Regions from separate parts of the Homo sapiens genome. Here region 2 is linked to region 1. Evidence: promoter capture Hi-C in 16 types of primary human blood cells and fetal thymus (Javierre and others, 2016). All regions are on one chromosome and are shown on one strand. Each heading gives the region's core, a stretch centred on a gene start or on the middle of the fragment in contact. The rest is flanking DNA. Distances are from core to core; before and after follow the strand shown.

The links. The method cuts DNA at HindIII sites, captures the fragments that hold promoters and counts their contacts. A CHiCAGO score of 5 or more calls a contact.
Region 2: a fragment that was not itself captured here is called in contact with the fragment with the promoter of SNRK-AS1 in region 1 in 4 of 17 cell types (total CD8 T cells, naive CD8 T cells, naive CD4 T cells and 1 more); the score reaches 11.8 in total CD8 T cells.

What each region holds. Positions count from the first base shown.
Region 1 is chr3:43,349,085-43,353,820 of GRCh38, forward strand. SNRK-AS1 (SNRK antisense RNA 1) reads right to left here and starts at 2,878. Exons shown (of 3, transcript NR_046757.1): 1 at 2,514-2,878; 2 at 2,247-2,297; 3 at 1-893. SNRK (SNF related kinase) reads left to right here. Exons shown (of 7, transcript NM_017719.5): 7 at 1-2,059. The HindIII fragment of the contact is 8,620 bases long and covers 1-4,736 here.
Region 2 is chr3:43,476,376-43,481,046 of GRCh38, forward strand. All of the region lies in intron 11 of ANO10 (anoctamin 10), which reads right to left. Among named protein-coding and RNA genes, the nearest start is that of SNRK-AS1, 130 kb to the left of the region's middle. RefSeq lists an enhancer at 2,372-2,944. The HindIII fragment of the contact is 1,627 bases long and covers 2,430-4,056 here.

The DNA.
Region 1 (4,736 bases), core at 1,628-4,127:
AGTGTCTGCACTGAGAACCTTAAACCACAGTTGAACATACCCACACCTGTTTGTCTTAAGCTATAGTGTAAAAACAAAGTTTGGGCTCTGAAAATTTAACTGAAAAAGATTTCCTTGTTTTTGTAATAGGTGAGATAAAGTACTTAGATTTATAAGGCAGCTTCCCCTGTAGTGATAAATTACAAGCAGACAATCTTATTTTGTAATGTGATGAAGTGATGATGTCTTAACTCTACTTAGAGAGTGTATGTCTGTCTAACAGAACAAAAAGATGCTCTGTGTAAATTCCTTCCTGTAGGGCACACTGCAGGATTTCCATGTAGATAGAAGAACTATAGGGCCTAGTACAGAAGGTGCACACAAATGTTGGCAAAGTCAAAACCCCATGAATTAAAACCTACTGGAATTTGGTTTTTAGGAGTTTGGTAATTAGATTATCTCTTTTGTTATTTTCATTCAGTTATATCCTTTGGCTCAGCTAGCTTTGAAATTGGCTGATGAAAAAATATACATAAAAGGGTAAAATTCACACATACAGCAAACAAAAATGCACAAAGCCTGCTTCGTAACTTTTTTTTCTGGAATTGTTTTTCACTTTGCCTTTTTCTGCCAAAACAATAATCAAAGAACTCTTGCTTTAACCTATTCCTGTACAAAGACTGTTTTTGACCAGATAATCATCTGTTGTGGCATTCTATCTTGTAGGACACTGTATATTGCAAATTGCTGATTATGGAAGGGGCCAGTTGCTGTTTTTTCATGCAGTGCCCTGGGAGTCTTAAAAGCAGTGCTTAGCAACATTGGTGATAGCATGTGGCTGGGACCCAGGGCCCTTCCCCACTCTTCAGCCCCGAGTCATGTGTCTGAGGTGACGGACTGAGACGCATCTGGTCCTGTAATTCAGAGAGTGGGCACATCACCAAAGAACTGCATTGCTGTGGTCACTGTTTCTTCAAGTACACACTGACTCTGCTACTTTAGGATAAATATATTTTACTCAGAACTCTGAATTTCACAGTATACTTACTAAACTAAGTAAAAATGATACTTAAAATACTTATTTTACTTTCTAGACCTAGGCTAGATGTTTTAAGCTACAGCTCTAGTTCATTGTGATATTTATAATTTGAAAGCTATGAGAATAGATGTGTGGGTGAAGCCATAGAACATATTTGCTTGAAATTCTTGAGCAGGGATCTTATAAAGGGCCAGAAATAAGATGTGTGGTTCACATAGATAGTGAGCGTAACATCTGTATTAAACATAGGAGAGAAGTTTATAAAGGGCATTGGCAATAAACTCTTTGTTGCAGCTGTTTTCCAAGCAGTGTAAATACTTTTTCCTGTGATTATGTATAGCCTTGGAATGGCACCTTTTAACTAACCCATATGTGTTTGGTTTCAATGGTTTTTTATATTCAGATGTATATATGGTGCTCACTTTAGGATCAGCAGTGTTGACCATTTATGCTGCATAGCTGTATTATAGCCTTATTAGTTGTGTGGTTGACCCTTGGGGTATACAAATGTCAGTCTGAGTGGTGTCTTACTCCTTTGTTTATAAGTGAATGATTGTGCATGTTTTGTATGTCATAGTATGTCGTCACATAAAAGGGAGGGAGCGAAAAACCATTACATTAAGATAATATTGGACCAAACTACTTACTTGCTCTAAACAGTTACTTGTACCCCTTAACCTGTCTTCAAAAGTTGCATATAGTTACAGTAGTGTATAAATTAAATATTGTGGAAAAACAGTCTTGTATTTTTCTGTATGTGTGTATATATATATAATTATGTACTTCTGGCAATTCTATCTGTATTTAAAGATGTGACAATCTTGACACCAATTTTAAGAATAGCTGTGAGACCGAATTAAAGATAATCCCTACCAAGTGAAAATTGATGTGTGTTAAGAGGGTACAGAATTATCAACTGATTTGGTCAGTTGCTTCCAATGCTGGTTGATTTCCCTCATTGTGTAAACATTGACAGGTATGTGACAAATGGGAAAAAAAATCCAAATAATAAAGTGACATATTGGTGTTCAGCAATATAAACCGTGTCCTGTGTTGTATTGCTTCTCATGAGTGTAGCTTTGTGTGATCCCACCTCAGTTAGACCCAGCCTTCTCCATGCCCTGTGCCTGCACCACCAGATTTGGCTGAAAAAGTACAGTCATTATTATGTTTAAACTCATGGCTACAAATCATAGGTGGGGCCAGGGTGCCCATTAAGTATACTTACTTTATTTCTCTATTTCATCTCCTTTCCTCACTCTGCTGGTCACCATGCTGCCTAATTGAATAAAGGGAAGCAATGAGAACTGCCACAAGTTCCCACCTCTGCCTTCCTCCCTTCCTTCATACACATTCACATGCTCTGCCCTTCCTCCTGTTACTGTGATTCCAAGGTCAGCTACTCTTACTCAGTTCTCACAACCATTACCATAATTGACTTTTACAACCCCCCCCCGCCCGCCAAAGAAATCTTGTGCCCTTTGGCATACTTTACCTTGTCCGCAACTCCCTTTACTCCAGCCTCATGCAACCACTTCCTGTGATCAATTTTCAATCCCATGTTAGAATTTGATGAATTGCTCACTTTCTTCCTTATGAACTTCCCATCTTTCAGTATCTCACTTCTGCCTTGCTGCTCTTCATGTCCACTGGTCCTTCCTCATTCTTCCAACCTCTAAATTTGGAATGTCCCAATGTTCAATTCTGGACCCCTGCTCTATCTGCAGTGACTCCTGATCTCAGTTAGTCTAGTATCTATATGCTGATAGAAGCCCAAAATATATTTAGCCCACATACCCTGGGAACACTGGATTTCAACTATCTATTTGACTTTTCTTCTTGGATGTGTCTGTGTGTCTACAGCATCTCAATTTTTACAAGTTCAAAACCCCTAATCTTTCCCCTCAAATCCTTTTACTAGCGCACCCATCTTAATAAATATCAACTCCTAGCCTTCAATAGTTTCATTCAAGCTGAAAATCTTGGTGTCATCCACTTTTTCATCCCAACATTCAGTTTATGAGCAAATCTTAACTTGCCTTTCACAGTTGACTCCTTCTCATTGCCACCACCACTACCACTCTAGTCCATGACACTCAACTGTAAATGCCTCTTAAAGGGTTTCCCTGCATTTGCCCTTGTCTTTCTCATTTATTTTCCACTTAGCAGTATGAGAGATCATTTTAAAGGCTAAATCATACCATGTTTTGAAACGTGTTTAGTTTCCAAATATTTGGGGTTTTCCCACATAGGTTTCTATAATTTTTAGTTTAATTCTATTTTTATCAGTGCATGCTTTCTATAGTTTAAATCTTTTGAAATTACTGAAACTTGTTTTATGGCCCAACATACGACCTATCTTGGTGAATGTTTCCTGAGTGCTTGGAAAGTGCTATTGGTGGAGTGTCCTATACATGTCAGTTCGTTCAAGTTGGTTGATAATGTTCAAGTTTTCTATATTCTTACTGATTTTCTGTCTCAATTATTGAGAGAGGAGTGTTGAAATCTCCAACTATAGTTGTGGATTTGTCTATTTCTCCTTTTAGTTCTAGCAGTGTTATTTTAGAAAATTTGAAGCTCTGTTGTTTGGTACATAAGCATTTAAGATTGTTACGTCATATCAATGAATTGATCCCTTTCCTCATGAAATGTTCCTTCTTTATGACTGGTAAACTATTTGTTCTGAAATCTACTTTGTGTGATAGTGATACAGTAACTCCAGCTTTTTTTTGACTTGTGAGAATATATCTTTTTCCATTCTTTACTGTTAACCTATTGTGTCTTTATGTTTAAAGTTTGTTTTTTGCAGATATCATATAGTTCGAGCTTGCTTTCTTATCCCATCAGCAAATGTCTGTCTTTGATTGAGGGTTTAGATGTATTACATTTAGTGTAATTGTCAATATGGTTGAGTTTAAACCTACCTAGTTTTCTATTTGTCTCGTCTGTTCTTTTTCCCTCTTTTGCTACCTTGTTTTGGTTTAACTGAGCACCTTTTGTTACTCCATTTTATCTCCGCTATTGGCTTATTGGCTGTAACTCTTGTTTTTCAGGGGGTGCTATAAGATTTGCAATACATGTATTTTATTATATCACAGTCTATCTTAATATATCACTTCATGTAGAATATAAAAACCTTACAACTGTATGCCTCTATTTTCCTCTTCCTGTTCCTTATACTACTGTTGTCATACATTTTATTTTTGTATATGTATAAATATTGTTTTAACTAGTTTTTAAGGGATTAAACAGGGGGGGGGGGAGTATTTTAGCTACATATTTGTCATTTGCAGCACTCTTCATTTCTTTGTGTAGATCCACAGTTTGGTTTTCCTTCTGCCTGTAGAACATTCTTTAACATTTCATATAATGCAGATCTGCTGGCATTACATTCTGTCAGCTTTTGTTTTGAAAAATTACTTTTCCTTTATGAAAGATATTATCATTGGGTATAAAAATTCTTGATTCATTTTTATTGCAATGCTGGACACTGAATTTTGCATTGTTGAATGCTGGAATTTTTTGTATTCGTGTGAGAAGTATTGGATTTCATTTTGGACTGCAGTTATTTAAAATCATTGGATCCTTCATGTCTCACTTTTAAACTGTTAGGGCAGATCCTGAGCAGTCTTCAGTCTAGGGCTAATTTGGCCCACTACTGAGGCAATACCTCTCTAGGGACTCTATTGAGGCTTTTCTACTCTGGCTGGTAGGAACA
Region 2 (4,671 bases), core at 1,993-4,492, 130 kb after region 1:
AGGCCTGCTTTTGATCTCCAATTAGTGGGGTCTGTAGTGGTCTACTAGCATTTGTTAAATTCATTTCTCATGTCATCCCACCAATTGTCTCAGGAAGGGAAGACATTGGCTGGTTCTTGGTGTCTTCCTGAAGTTGGTCTGTCCTTCATGTTATATCAGATAAAAACTTCTCAACACCTGTAGAATGCAACGGACACCACTTCCCTGCCAGCTCCCTGTTTTCTCCTTTTCCTTTTCTTGGTTTATGGAGTTTTCTCCTTACTTTCCTTTTTCTTTGTAGTTTTTATCGGTTTTTTCCCTTACTTCACCATCTTCCCAAGAAATCTTGAGTTAGATCACTTTGTGGAACTTAGTATGAGCAAGCTATACCACTAATAAACATTAAAATAATGAGATAGCCTAAGAGTAACTGCTCAAAGAAAATGAAGACTATCCCCGAATTCATGCATGACCATAGCATGTATTTTGAAAGAAGAAAGAAAACATAGCAAACCTTGCCAATCAATAAGCAATTTGCCGATCAATAAGTAATTTCCCTGTACTATTCAATGCAGGCAGATCTCCACAGTGGGCAGATACAAGAGTTTTTTTTTCTTTTACCATGGGTAAAATTTCTTTTATTTGAGAAAGTAATGTGTATACATAGTTTTAAAAAATAAAGACAAAGAATATACAGAAAAGATCTTCCATCCATTCCTGCTCTGCACCCCTCTACCATCTTTCAGTATTCTCCCTAGAGACAAGCCCTGTTATTTATCTACTGGTTTACAAATAGAGAAATCTTTCATTATCCCTCAAATTAAAACTGATCAGCATATTGAGATGATATGATGTTGAGAAGATACAGTATTATTGTAACTGTTAAGAAAAGCTAGAATAATATCAAAGGTATTGTAGTGGATAAAACTTAGGCAGATGCACAAAAAAGATGTACCACCTCTCCCTTTTTATTAATGAATATGAAAATAATTTATAAATTACTTACTCAAACAAACATTTACTGAGCATCTACCATATGCTAGGGACTGTCCTAAGTGGTATGGACAGAAAATGAAGCAAGACGTACTCCATCTATTACCTTCCATTTCATTTTATTAAGATAATTGTTAATAACAGCTGACGTGTTATATTTTAAGTGCTAAATCAAAATGTCATTGCATAAAAGTCATTTGCAAATCAAACGGAACAATCTGAGCACAGATCTAAAACTCGTAATGCTTCCTTGGATCCTGGACCATAATACTGTACTTGTGGTAAGCTCAGAGCAGGAGGGAATAGCCTGATGACAAATTACCCCTCATCTTAAATGTTCTAACATCCCCTATACTGTCAGTCGACCTTGGGTGTGTTCACACACAATAGCACACAGGAAGACGCGAAGGTGACGTGGCCTTCCTGTTTGGGCAAGGCATAATCTTAACATAGAAGGTGCCTGTTGCTCATTACGGGCAGAAAAAAGAGCCATTATCACTTACAATTGGACAGACCTCTTTGACTTTGGCAGGGGCCCGCCAACCTGCACACCAGAGGCACACATAGGGAGTGAGGGAGGAATGTTGAGAAGTGATTTCCCAATGGCCCATCTCTAAGGAAGTAGTCTCTGTTTTTTCAGTTCACACTTTACCACAATGCTTACCTTGTGCCAGGCCCTATTCTAAGTGCTTTTCATATATTTACTCATTTAATGCTCACAACAGCCCTATGAGGCAGAAACTACATTTATTCCCATTTGACAGATAAGGAAACTGAGGATCAGAGAGGTTACGTATCCTGGCCAAGGTCACAGAGTTAGTGAGCTGTCTATACAAGCCACATGGAGTGAGGTTCTGGAGATGGAAGTTGGGGTTAGTCAGAACAGATGCCTTAAAATGTCCTTGTCAAAGTTGCCTCTTCTATGCAAAATGATAATTCTGAAATCAGCAACCTAAAAAACAGCAGCCATCTATTATGACCTCACCACTGTGCTATGTGTTTTATAAATGAAAAGCCCAATCCTAACAAACCCTTTAAAGTAGGGACTTTAACCACCCATTTTATAGATTAAGAAATTAAGGTCTGGAAAGTAACTTCCCCTAGCTAGTGAGATCTGAAGCCAGGATCTTAGCTGTCTGACTCCAGGACCCATGCTTTTTTCATTTCACTGTAGTGACTATGTGTGAGTGAGAAATTCCAACATCATCACAATCAGAAAAATAGTGGCTCTGTCTACTCTGATGGTTTATGCTTGTGCTAACACAGGCTGTCCTCCTAGTGGGGAGAAGTCTTTGGCACAAGTAATTAATTTACATTAATGCTTAGCTCTCACTCCTATGTAGTATTCATATTTGACACAGTACAATTTTTCTCATTTTCAAACACAGATTATTCACACCATACATATGTAGCAGATAATTCAATAATAAATTGACTGTGATCAAACATTTGGCAAAAGCTTGAGAAGTCAAATAGTTTTTAAAAAGTCTGATATATCCTTAGACTTCCAAATTGTCTCCATTTTAAGGTTAGAGCATCTAAAAGCAAACCCAAGTACCTGTTTTATAATATTATAGCCCCCTACAGAAATGCCTCCACAAGTTAGGGCACTTTAGAAACTATAGTGAACCATCTGAATGGTTTTCTAAAACTATCCTTGAGGACATAGATTATTGTGTTAATCAAGGTTCCCTGATCCTTTTGTTTAATAACAGAAAAGAGGCACTACCTTTTCCTTTTCACTCGTGCATAGATTATTGTGTTAATCAAGGTTCCCTGATCCTTTTGTTTAATAACAGAAAAGAGGCACTACCTTTTCCTTTTCACTCGTGCTAACATGAAAATATAAGAGCAAGCATTAAGGCCTAATTGTATAAAAGCTGTATCATGTCTCATGTGGTAAAAACACACAGTCCCTGTTATCCCAGATGTTCTCTGAAAGTTTCTATACCTAATTATCCTATTTACATTTTAAACATTGTTGTTGCTTTCTTTTTCAAGTAGGTGAAGTTAGAAATAAAAAATAAATATTAAACTTTGATATATTTATTAATTCAGAAGTTGGTCAATCTAAAGTTCAATAATCTATGAAAAATTACCAAATTCACAGTACTCAACAATAAAAAAGAACCAGAGAAGTAAAGACCTCTAATGAAATGTGATTGGTACATCTGCCCTGAAGAGAGCTTTTTGAAAGGAAGGAAAGGAGGGAGGGAAAAAGGAAAGTTGAAGGCTGCAGACATTTCTAAGTGGATAGACTAAGTAGGAGAAAAGTTAATTACCAAATGGTTAAAGTCAAAGTGTAATACTGGGACCTGGAGACCTGGGAGACTTCTGGATTAAACAGATGAACTTACGTCTGCTCTCCCCTCCTTCTGAATCACCATAAAATGATAGCCCACAGTGCCTGGGCCTTGGAGAACCCCAGGAGATAGAGCCTAGGACCTCAGAACGGCTGCAGAAGGGCAGAAGACACTCCTTGACCCCTCTCTATCCTTCAAAGTCCCATCCCCTCTCTCATCCAGTGGAAGACACAAGACTTCCTATCAAGTGAGACTGAACTACAGGCAGCACCAGGGGCAGTAACACAATAATGAAAACGCCTTTCCACTAAAAGAGGAATTAGGAGGAAACAGAGACAAAGCAGAGATCAGAAGAAAAGTACAGAGGGATAATACTGCATTCATGAAATAAAGTACAGAATGCTATTTTCTAAAAGGAGGTGGGAACATTCAGAGAATAAAAAAGAGCTCTTGGATACTAAACTTATGATTGCTGACATTCAATAGAAGAATTGGGAAATACAGTTGAGAAAATCTCAAAATAGACAGAAGAACCCAAACAAACAAGGAGACACAAAAATAGGGGGAAAACATACAACAAATGGTAAGTCCAGAAAATGCAACAGAGGGCCAGAAATAAAGATAGAACATGGAGAAAAGATAATTCTCAAAGAAATAATTCAAGGATTTCACAGAACTGAAGAACAGGTGTCTGCAAGTGTTAAGTCCCTCTGATCGAGGAGACCACAAAGGCATATCATTGTGAAATGTCAGACACCAGGGATAAAGAGAAGACTGTGAAAGCTTCCAGAGAGAATGAACAGACCCCGTGTAAAGGATCAGGGGTCAGGCTGGCATTAGGCTCTCAACAGCAATGTTAGAGGCAATGGGTAATGTCTTCCAAATTTGGAGGGCAGATGGGCATAAAGATGTCTGCAGATATGCAAGATTCCAAACTATCTCTCATGAACCTGCCAAGATAAAGGAGGGGGTTACAAGAAAGGGGTGGTAAACGAGAAGCCAAGTGAATTCCCAAGAAGTTGGGAAGTGAGGACAGAAACCCTGCAGCCAGTCTGGAGGTGAACTGCCCAAATGGGAAGGGAACACCACAGTTCCAGAAATACCCTCTCCAAGGAAAACAACACAACACACTGAGAGGCTGTCTGGTGTGTTTAAGCACACTATGTTTAGGAAAGAATCAATGATAGGTACACAGAAACCAAACAAAGAAAAAACAAGGCCGTTTTCAACTCAATTATGCTTAAGGAAACATAATCATGGCACACTACGTACTTATCTACAAATACAATGTGCATAATAATACAACCACTACATTGTATTATTGTATAATAATTGTATAATAATACAATATACTAATTGTATAACAATACAATCACTGATTTAACCAAAAGTTGTG